2 separate regions of the Homo sapiens genome follow, and region 2 is linked to region 1. Evidence: promoter capture Hi-C in human tissues and cell types (Jung and others, 2019). All regions are on one chromosome and are shown on one strand. Each heading gives the region's core, a stretch centred on a gene start or on the middle of the fragment in contact. The rest is flanking DNA. Distances are from core to core; before and after follow the strand shown.

Region 1 (4,173 bases), core at 982-3,481:
AAGGACAGCATGAGCCCAAAAGTTTGAGGCTGCAGTGAGCTATGACCATGCATGTGAATAGCCACTGCAATCCAGCCTAGGCAACAAAGTGAGACCCTGTCTTAAATAAATATACAGGAGCATATGCATCAGTTATATGTAAATACTACACCAATCTATGTAAGGAACTTGAGCATCCAGAGGATTCTGGCATCCTGGGGCAAGGGCAGGTCCTGGAACCAATCCCATGGATAACCTGAGGGAACGACCATACTTCCAAATGGCTCTCTGACATCTACCTTACCCCCGAATGCAATACAAAATACAAAACCAAACTTGTTACCTTTCCTCCATTCATTCCCGCCGTTATCTTTAGTCTTCACCCAAATCCATCCCTATTAACTGGCAATACAAGCCTGACACCTAGGACCATCCTGATCCCTCCTGCTCTCTCACCAAATTCTAATGCTTCTAACGTCAAATACACTTCTGGAGCTGAGACCCACTTCTATATTCCTAATGCCCGTTGCCCATCACTTTTTATTCTGAACTATCACACGAGTCTCCCAACTAGCCTCCCCAAGTCTAGCCTTGTAATTACTAAGTTATTCATTCATATACAGACATGTAAACTATTAAAATTTATAGAAAACTCTTCAACAGTTGTCCCTATTTAGAAGGGCCTAATCCAAAGAAAACTCAGAAATTATGCAAAGGTCATTCATGCAACATTCATTATCAAACACAAACCATGAAGAACCCTCTACTTGGCACCAAGAATGCAAAGATAAATAAGGCAGCTCCCCTCAGGGAGCTGACAATCCCTGTCAACTACGATAGTGTTAAGTGCTTCAACAGAGCTTTGCTAAGGGTGCAAAGGTAACAAAACCCACGGGAAGATTCCTCAAGATGTAACCTAATACCTAGTCTCTTCTCCAGAAAAGATTACACTTGTAAACCATTCATGGACATAACACATTCCTAAAGGAAATTTCCTTTAATTTCTCACATTATTGCATTACCCACCCCTCCTCCATCATCTCAAGTGAAGACAATATTTTTCTTCTATCCTATTTGAACTGAGTGGCTATATTTGCAATTTCTCTTGCTATTTCCTTAAAGTAGTGACCTCAAATTTCACATCTGGACTCACTAATTACATTCCTAGGTACATAAAAGATTACTGACTATAGTCATTAATCGTAGGTCTATGTATACAATTAAACACATTTAAAAGCACACGCCGTGGAACCCAAAGCCGAGTCAAACTTCCCCAAAACTCATCATTTACTCTTGGCACTTTAAGATATACTTTAAAACTAGGTAGGCATTTGGTATATTATTGTTCAAGGCTTGCCGTTTTTGCCTAGAAAACTGAAATTTGGAGAAAAAGTTGATTTTGGAGCAGTAAAAACGCCAGTCGAATGACCTCAAAATAGTAAGAGCAAATGGAAATATGGTCATATAAACAGCTGTTCTCCAAACGACTGACTTGAAGAGGTCCTCATGTTTTACTAAACAAACTCTGAAAGTAACAGCAAAGTAAAAGTAGAGTGTATTAACATTCGTCTCATTTCACGTTCTGTTGATAATGAAATCATAGGCAAGGAATGTAGGTAAACTATTAGGAATAAATGAACGCAACCTAGCAGAAACCAAATCAAGTGAGTAAACGGAAGACAAGGGCATTAAGTTAAGTTAACAAGGTTACTTCCTGGGTCAGAATTTTAAACAAAAAGGAGGAACAGAACCGCCCATCACAGGGCACATAAAGGAAACATCACCGGTCACTTCACAAGCACACTGCAAGAAACTCCAGAGGGTAGCACGGAGAGGGCCTGTCCCTCAAGAGGTGGAAGTCCCCAGACAAGAGGGGAGGAAAGAAGGACGTGATCCCCTAACAGTCTGTCTCATCACGCCCGGCCAAAGCCCGATGACACAGAGGCGTGCAATTAATCCCAACCAGGCGGAGCTCAGCTCAGAGGCTGCGCCAGGCGCAGAGGCGCGGGAAGCGCGGCAGTCCCCTTGCTCGCGCCCTGAGGCCGCCCCACAGCCTGCGCCCCCACCCGGCCCAACCGTCACTGTCCCGTCGGTCCGGCAGCCGAAACGTAGGCCAAAGGTGCATGCGTCTGCCTCCCGCCTAGGCGCAGGCCGAGGCACCAGCGTCCCCCCTCACCGAGCCCGCGTCCCCGACTTCGGAGGGCAGTGTGCAGCGGGAAAGTCCACGGACTGAAGAGGTGTCCCAGGGCACTGCAAGTGCGCGTGCGCGTGGCCCCCGCACCGGCTGGAGCCCGGAACGGCCGTACCGCGCCCGCCTCTGGTTTACGTCTGTTCGCGGCACCAGGCAAGGGGAGGAGACTGAGCTGGCTTTTGATTGGACAGCGGGAAGACATGGGGCGGGAAGAAGCCCGGTGATTGGTGGGGACAGCGCGTTCCTGGATTTGAAGCGAGGAAGCCGCGCGCCCTGCGAGTCCGGAGGAGGAAATGGAGCTCTGCGCTGCGTGGGACCCGGGGGACGGCTCCCGTTGGCGCCGCCTTCAAGGTCTTGGCGAATTTGAAAATAATGCTTACTTTATTCAGTTTGGGTCTCCAGGGCACCGCCAGTCACTCTATGCGCAAAGAAGTATCCCCCGCCAACAAATCCCCCCCGATAGGTTTCGTCCTTCCGTGGGCAGATGCAGACCTTTCCTGTTGGTAGGCGCTGAAAGGCGTCAGGTTTCACCTTCAATCAGCTAATTCCTCGGGATCCAAGTTTCATGACATTTCGCCACATCTAGTCGCCTCTTTGTGACAGAGTAGGCTTTGTCTCGATTGCTTCCTACTTTTCTCCATCCTTCTTAGGCCACAAAACCCATCACCGCCATCTGCTCGGCACAGGCCCTTAACTACTTCACTGAGACCATGCCTTTCACTCAAAATGTATCTCAGTCTTTTTCAGTAAGGTCCCTTATCTCAAAATTTATTCCATATAGTCACAGAGGGAAAAGAGTCCCTCTTTTCCAAAGCTAACTCCTTAACTTCGTTCAAGTTACTGAAAGATGTCCGGCGCACCTTGGAGGAAAGAAGAGGGAAAACGCAAAGTTTAGAAGTCCCTAGACCTGAGGTTACTTGGTGGGGAAAGACGTCTGTTTACTTGACCACTTTCTACCTCCTGCAAACATGGCTCACCTGTCATTCTTGGATATCCTCTCCACTGGTTTCCTTCTCTCTGCCTACAAAAATGCAGCACCTCTCTACCCAAACACACACACCACACACCCATACACCACACACACCACTCACACCACAAACCACACACACCCACATATGCACCACACACACGTGTGTGACACGTATACACACATCCATACACAACACACACCCACATACACATCACCCACACACCACACACACCCTCCACACACAAACACCACTCAAACCACACACCCACACACACCCCTTCCTTGATTCTGTTTCATCACCTAATGACCATTCTTGTTTCCTTCCCTTAATGGTCTCCACTTTTTTTTCCATAGAGGAAGCCAGGCTTCCACTTTTTACACCTTATTTTGACGCATTTCATGGTGTCTAGCTGGGTCCTTAAAACTTTATCAGGAATAGACTCCTAATTGTCAAACTCAGTGATATCTCCACAGTTCGACACCTCTTCTTGGAACCCTGCAGCCTTGGTATTTGCAAAGAGTAATTACCTTTATTCTACCTTTGTCCACACTCAGTGAGCAAAGATAAATGCAGAAAATCTCAAGATTTTCTGAATCCCAAAAAAGTAAGCCAAATGCTCAGCCCTAGAGCTGACCTCTCTTAACCTCTTTTTCTACAAAGCGGTCACACATTGGAGGTGAACTGCTTAAATGTGTCTACAGGTTCCGGACTGTCACTCACACCAGATCCTTGTTAATAAATGTCCTTCCTCCATAAATATCCTCAAGTCACCACAGCACTCCCCACAACACTCAGTAACCTGATAGGACTCTATTAACAGAGATCTCTGATTCAGAGTCTCGGCAGCAGGAGAGCCTGGACTCTGACGCCAGGCTGCCTGGATCTGAATCCTGGCTCTACCTCCCTCTTCCAAACTGTGTAGCCTTGGGCAAGTAGCTTTAACCAGCCGGTTTCCTTGTCTGTAAAGTGGGGATAATTAAAGCGCTTGCCTCAGAGGCTTACTGTGAGGATTTAAAGCTACTTCTGTAAGGT
Region 2 (4,173 bases), core at 715-3,214, 390 kb before region 1:
CTGCTACACAACCCGCAGCACCTGGTCGGCTTCCCAAAACATCTGCAGTTGCGACTCCACACGGGTGTCCTGATTGCACCATGCCTGCCCGTCTCCCCCACAAGTGCCATGAGAGCAAAGGCAGTGGCCAGCAGATCCTCCAGTTCCCCTTGGCACCCAGCAGGTGCCCAGTAAATACGTATTTCCTGAGCGAACACATGAGTGAAGGAAGACACTTACGTGAAGCTTCCCTGAGTACTATACACAGCGCAGAGAAGGCTCAGCAAACACCTACACAATTAACCCAGCCCTAGCTGCGCCTGGCAAGGGGCATTTCCCAGGTGGAGGTGCTGCTCCTCAGCCTGCTTGGCTGGGACCCTCCGGGCTGGTTTTCCCACCACCCCACTAGAAGAGTTGAGATGATGATTACAAGTGGTGAGCCTGCTGCACTTACACTTCCCACAAAGTCCTATCCAGCAAAGGCCTTCAGAGGTCATTGACTTAAATGCCCTCAGGCTACAGAGAGAGAGCAAGCGCTGCCCCATGGAGGCGCAAGAACTGCGCCCAACACTGGCAGCAGGAGAGCAGGACTGACCCTGGGCCTCTTGCCCTGAAGGCACTGCTTCCCATGCTACTCCTGAGGCCCAGGAAGCTCCCTAAACCCAAGTAGCTTAAATCAAGAGAGAAGGAGAGGGGGGAATACAGGAAGAGGCAACTTACCCAGGACGCAAGGTCACAGTCAAGATCCCCCCCAAGGCAGCAAGCACATGGTCATCATTCTACACACACACGCACACACATGCACACACGCACACACACGCACACACACACGCACACACACATGGAGGTTCTATTTATACTGGGAAGATGGGCAGGACTAACCAGGAAATAAATTAATTCAATATTGCACTTGAAAAATGTCATTAAGTCCCTCCCATAACAGAGCAACAGTTACTAAGGAAATAGAGCACGTCAAATGGAAAAACACCCCCACAGGAAGGGACATTTTAAAAACATGAACACTCACAAACCTAACCAAGTAAGTTACAGGGTATGTCTGCCTTACCAGTTATTCACAAAAACTTATATGAAACGCAGTCCTCCTCAGAGTCATTCAGGAATACAAACTGAACTGTGTCCGTATTATATCTTTCATTAAAAGACACTGTAAAAACAGATACATGGGGTTCAGGAAATGTGAGGGTCACACAGGGGCACGGAGGCCAAAATCCAATGGAGAAGTGAAACAGCCTTTTTTCCAAAATCAAAGTAGCACTCAAAAAACCGTAGTGCATAAAGAATTGACGCTGCAGTTTCATTTTTTATTTCCTCCTGCTGTGGACAGACTGTTTCGCTGGCGGAATGTCGGTTACCTAGGTGACAGCTCCACAGCCATGGCGACTGCTCCAGGCCCCACAGACGCTCAGGGCCGAGCCCCGGCCTGTGGATGCCGATCCCTGGCCACTCTACCCACCAGAGAAGTTCCAGGGAGAAAGGAACGCTGCCAACCAAAGAGGTCATTCTAAACCTCGGCAAACTGGGGCTCTGCTGCAAAATTTAAAAAAAATAAAAATGACCATGTTTGAGAGCTGCACGGCACAGCTCACCTATGCATCATCTCACCCTATGTTCATTTAGGATCAAAGAGGCAAAGGGCTTGTCATGAGACAGATGGGAGAAAAAGTGGGGAAAAGACCCTTGAGAAGCTATTTCCAACTTGAGCTGGGACCAGGTGTCCCACCAAGGGAGATGTCACACGTCTCCATGTGAGTGCCTCAGAGCTCATGGATAGTGCAGACCTTGGCAACGGCCAGTCAGTCTCAAGATCTCCTAACAGTAAAGAAAAGGAGGTGCTACAAATAAAACACCTCTGCCTCCAGGCAGCCAGCCGTAGGCAGAGAGCCCCAGGTAGGGGACCCACTCTGCTTCTGGTACCCGTGGTGACTCCCGGCCCTGGCTCCCATCTCCTCTTTTATACAATGAGGAGGTGAAACTGGAGGTCCCTCCCATTCCAAAAAGTCCCCTATGGCCATGTCTCTGGCCGAGAGAGAGGGCAAATGGGCATAAAAAAGGATACAGTGGGCGGGCACGGTGCCTCACGCCTGTAACCCCAGTGCTTTGGGAGGCTGTGGCAGGAGGATTGCTTGAGCCCAGGTGTTTGAAACCCACCTAGCCAACATAGAAAGTCCCCATATCTACTAAAAATATAAAAATTAGCTGGGCATGGCTGTGCACACCTATACTGGGGAGGCTGAGGCAGGAGGACTGCTTGAGCCCATGAGTTCAAAGCTGCTGTGAGCTGTGACTGCACCACTGCACTCCAGCCTGGGCAACATAGCAAGACCCTGTCTCTTCAAAAAAAAAAAAAAAACTAAAGAGAAACAAAAGAAAGGGACACAGTGCAGAAGCACAGAAAATCCACATGGAAATGCAAATCTGAGAGCAAGTCAGAGAAACAGGCTGCCTATAGCCAGGGAAGACTGAGTTGGAGTGTGATGAATTTTTCATGCTACTTTTCATCTCTGTGATGTGGGGGGGCAAAATAACATGTAGCTTTTGTAACACAACCTCCAAGCCATCCTCACCCTGGGTAGCTCAGTGGGATCTGGTTACTTGTTCAGCATAATGTAGTTCAGGGTAGCGTAGTGCCTTGCTGTAGGTCACCAATTCAGGAAGCAAGTACAAAACCCAAAACATCGATTCAAAGACACACACAGGCTGCAAACAGGAAAAGCAATAATTATATTAGAACATTCTTTAAAATGTCACCTTGACAAATCCAACACTTGATAAATCCTGAGGCTATATTCAAACCAAGTTGGAGAGAGTTCCCCCTAAAATAAACAGGATAACTGTCCTTAATGCATTAGTAAGTCTATAATTATCGACTCATATGATCTAGCAGCAGAGGAAGCCGCAAGGAGTCATATATCCGACCCCTGTGCTTTGTGGAGGAGGCGATCCAGAGGCTCAGGGAGAGGGGACAGGTTGAAGATGAGTGTGGGAGGAATGCAAGCCAGGGCTGGAACCAGGTGTCTGGATCCTGGCCCAAGCTTCCAGTTCCACTGTCTACACACAGCGGCCACAGGAGACACTGGCTCAGGAGGGAGAGCCTGCAATGCTAGGAAGACAGCCGTGCACACCTGCACCAGCCGCTCGCTGGGAATCAGGGAATACTGGGAAGATCTCTGCTTTCCAGGGCCCGAACCAGGCCATTCCCACAGCACCCACATGCACAAGGGAATGGGAAAGGGTCAGGGCTTGGCCCAGGGGCAGATGATCCCTGAGCAGACGTGCATTCTGGTCTGAGCCCGGTCTGAGCACATCACAGACACCTCCACTGTGGCCACCAGCCAAGCAGCGGCAATGCCCCTCCCAACCCAGCCCCACCCCCGTAGAGGTTCTGCTCCCACTGTGGCCTGGCGTGAGGGCTCGGGCTGACGGGCAGGGGGCTGGCGGGCAGGGGGCTGGCGGGCAGGGGCAGGCCTCTGCAATCCTCCACACCCAGGGATCTCCCCCACTCCAGCTTTCTTCAGATAAAATCAGCTTAAAATGGGCATGACAGGCAAACAAGAAGGGGGTCAGACCATAGGCTAACAAGTGTGGGCAGGAAGGGAGGGGGAGCTGTCTCATTCTTTGGTGGGAATAGAAAAGAATATGAACCGACAAGCTGTTTGTACGAAACAATTTTCATCTCCCTTGCCAAGCCACTCCTTGCTGTCAGCTCACAGCAGGCTTCCCTGGGACACCTGTGCCGGCCCACAGTCTTCCCTGCTCTCTGGCCTGCAGGACGCCACCAAAGCTGCATCTCTTCATTCAGTATTTCAACAGCTATTTGTGGGGTCATTACTCTGGCAGGCACTATTTTAGGAGCTGGGGAGACAGCAGTGAGCAAAACAAACCAAGCTCCTGTCACCATGGGGCCCAGATCCTTGTGTCTCGTCTGCCTCTGCAGGTGTTTCTGGACAACGCTTCCTGATTATCCTTGGCATTGACCATGGGGACTAGAATACAGCAGGTACCCAATAAATGCTGACTGTACTGCACAGAATTCTAGCTGAGCCTCAGCTAGGTCACCTCCTTTTCAATCTATGGCCTCTGTCCTGCATCTGGGCACCACACACAAGTGGCTGCTGGCCTGGGGGTGCCCCATGGGGGACATCGTGGCTGGGAGTTTACTGCACAGGCAGTGCC

Evidence for each region. The method cuts DNA at HindIII sites, captures the fragments that hold promoters and counts their contacts. A contact is called where the count stands out against the background at its distance.
Region 2: a contact is called between a fragment that was not itself captured here and the fragment with the promoter of CEP192 in region 1, in 1 of the 25 tissues and cell types used here (dorsolateral prefrontal cortex).

The regions. Positions count from the first base shown.
Region 1 is chr18:12,989,420-12,993,592 of GRCh38, reverse strand. CEP192 (centrosomal protein 192) reads right to left here and starts at 2,231. Exons shown (of 45, transcript NM_032142.4): 1 at 2,156-2,231. RefSeq lists a silencer at 1,970-2,049 and enhancers at 2,530-2,909, 3,300-3,912. The HindIII fragment of the contact is 10,836 bases long and covers 1-4,173 here.
Region 2 is chr18:13,379,254-13,383,426 of GRCh38, reverse strand. All of the region lies in intron 2 of LDLRAD4 (low density lipoprotein receptor class A domain containing 4), which reads right to left. Among named protein-coding and RNA genes, the nearest start is that of LDLRAD4-AS1, 46 kb to the left of the region's middle. RefSeq lists enhancers at 1,294-1,918, 2,610-3,109, 3,110-3,611. The HindIII fragment of the contact is 4,118 bases long and covers 1-4,023 here.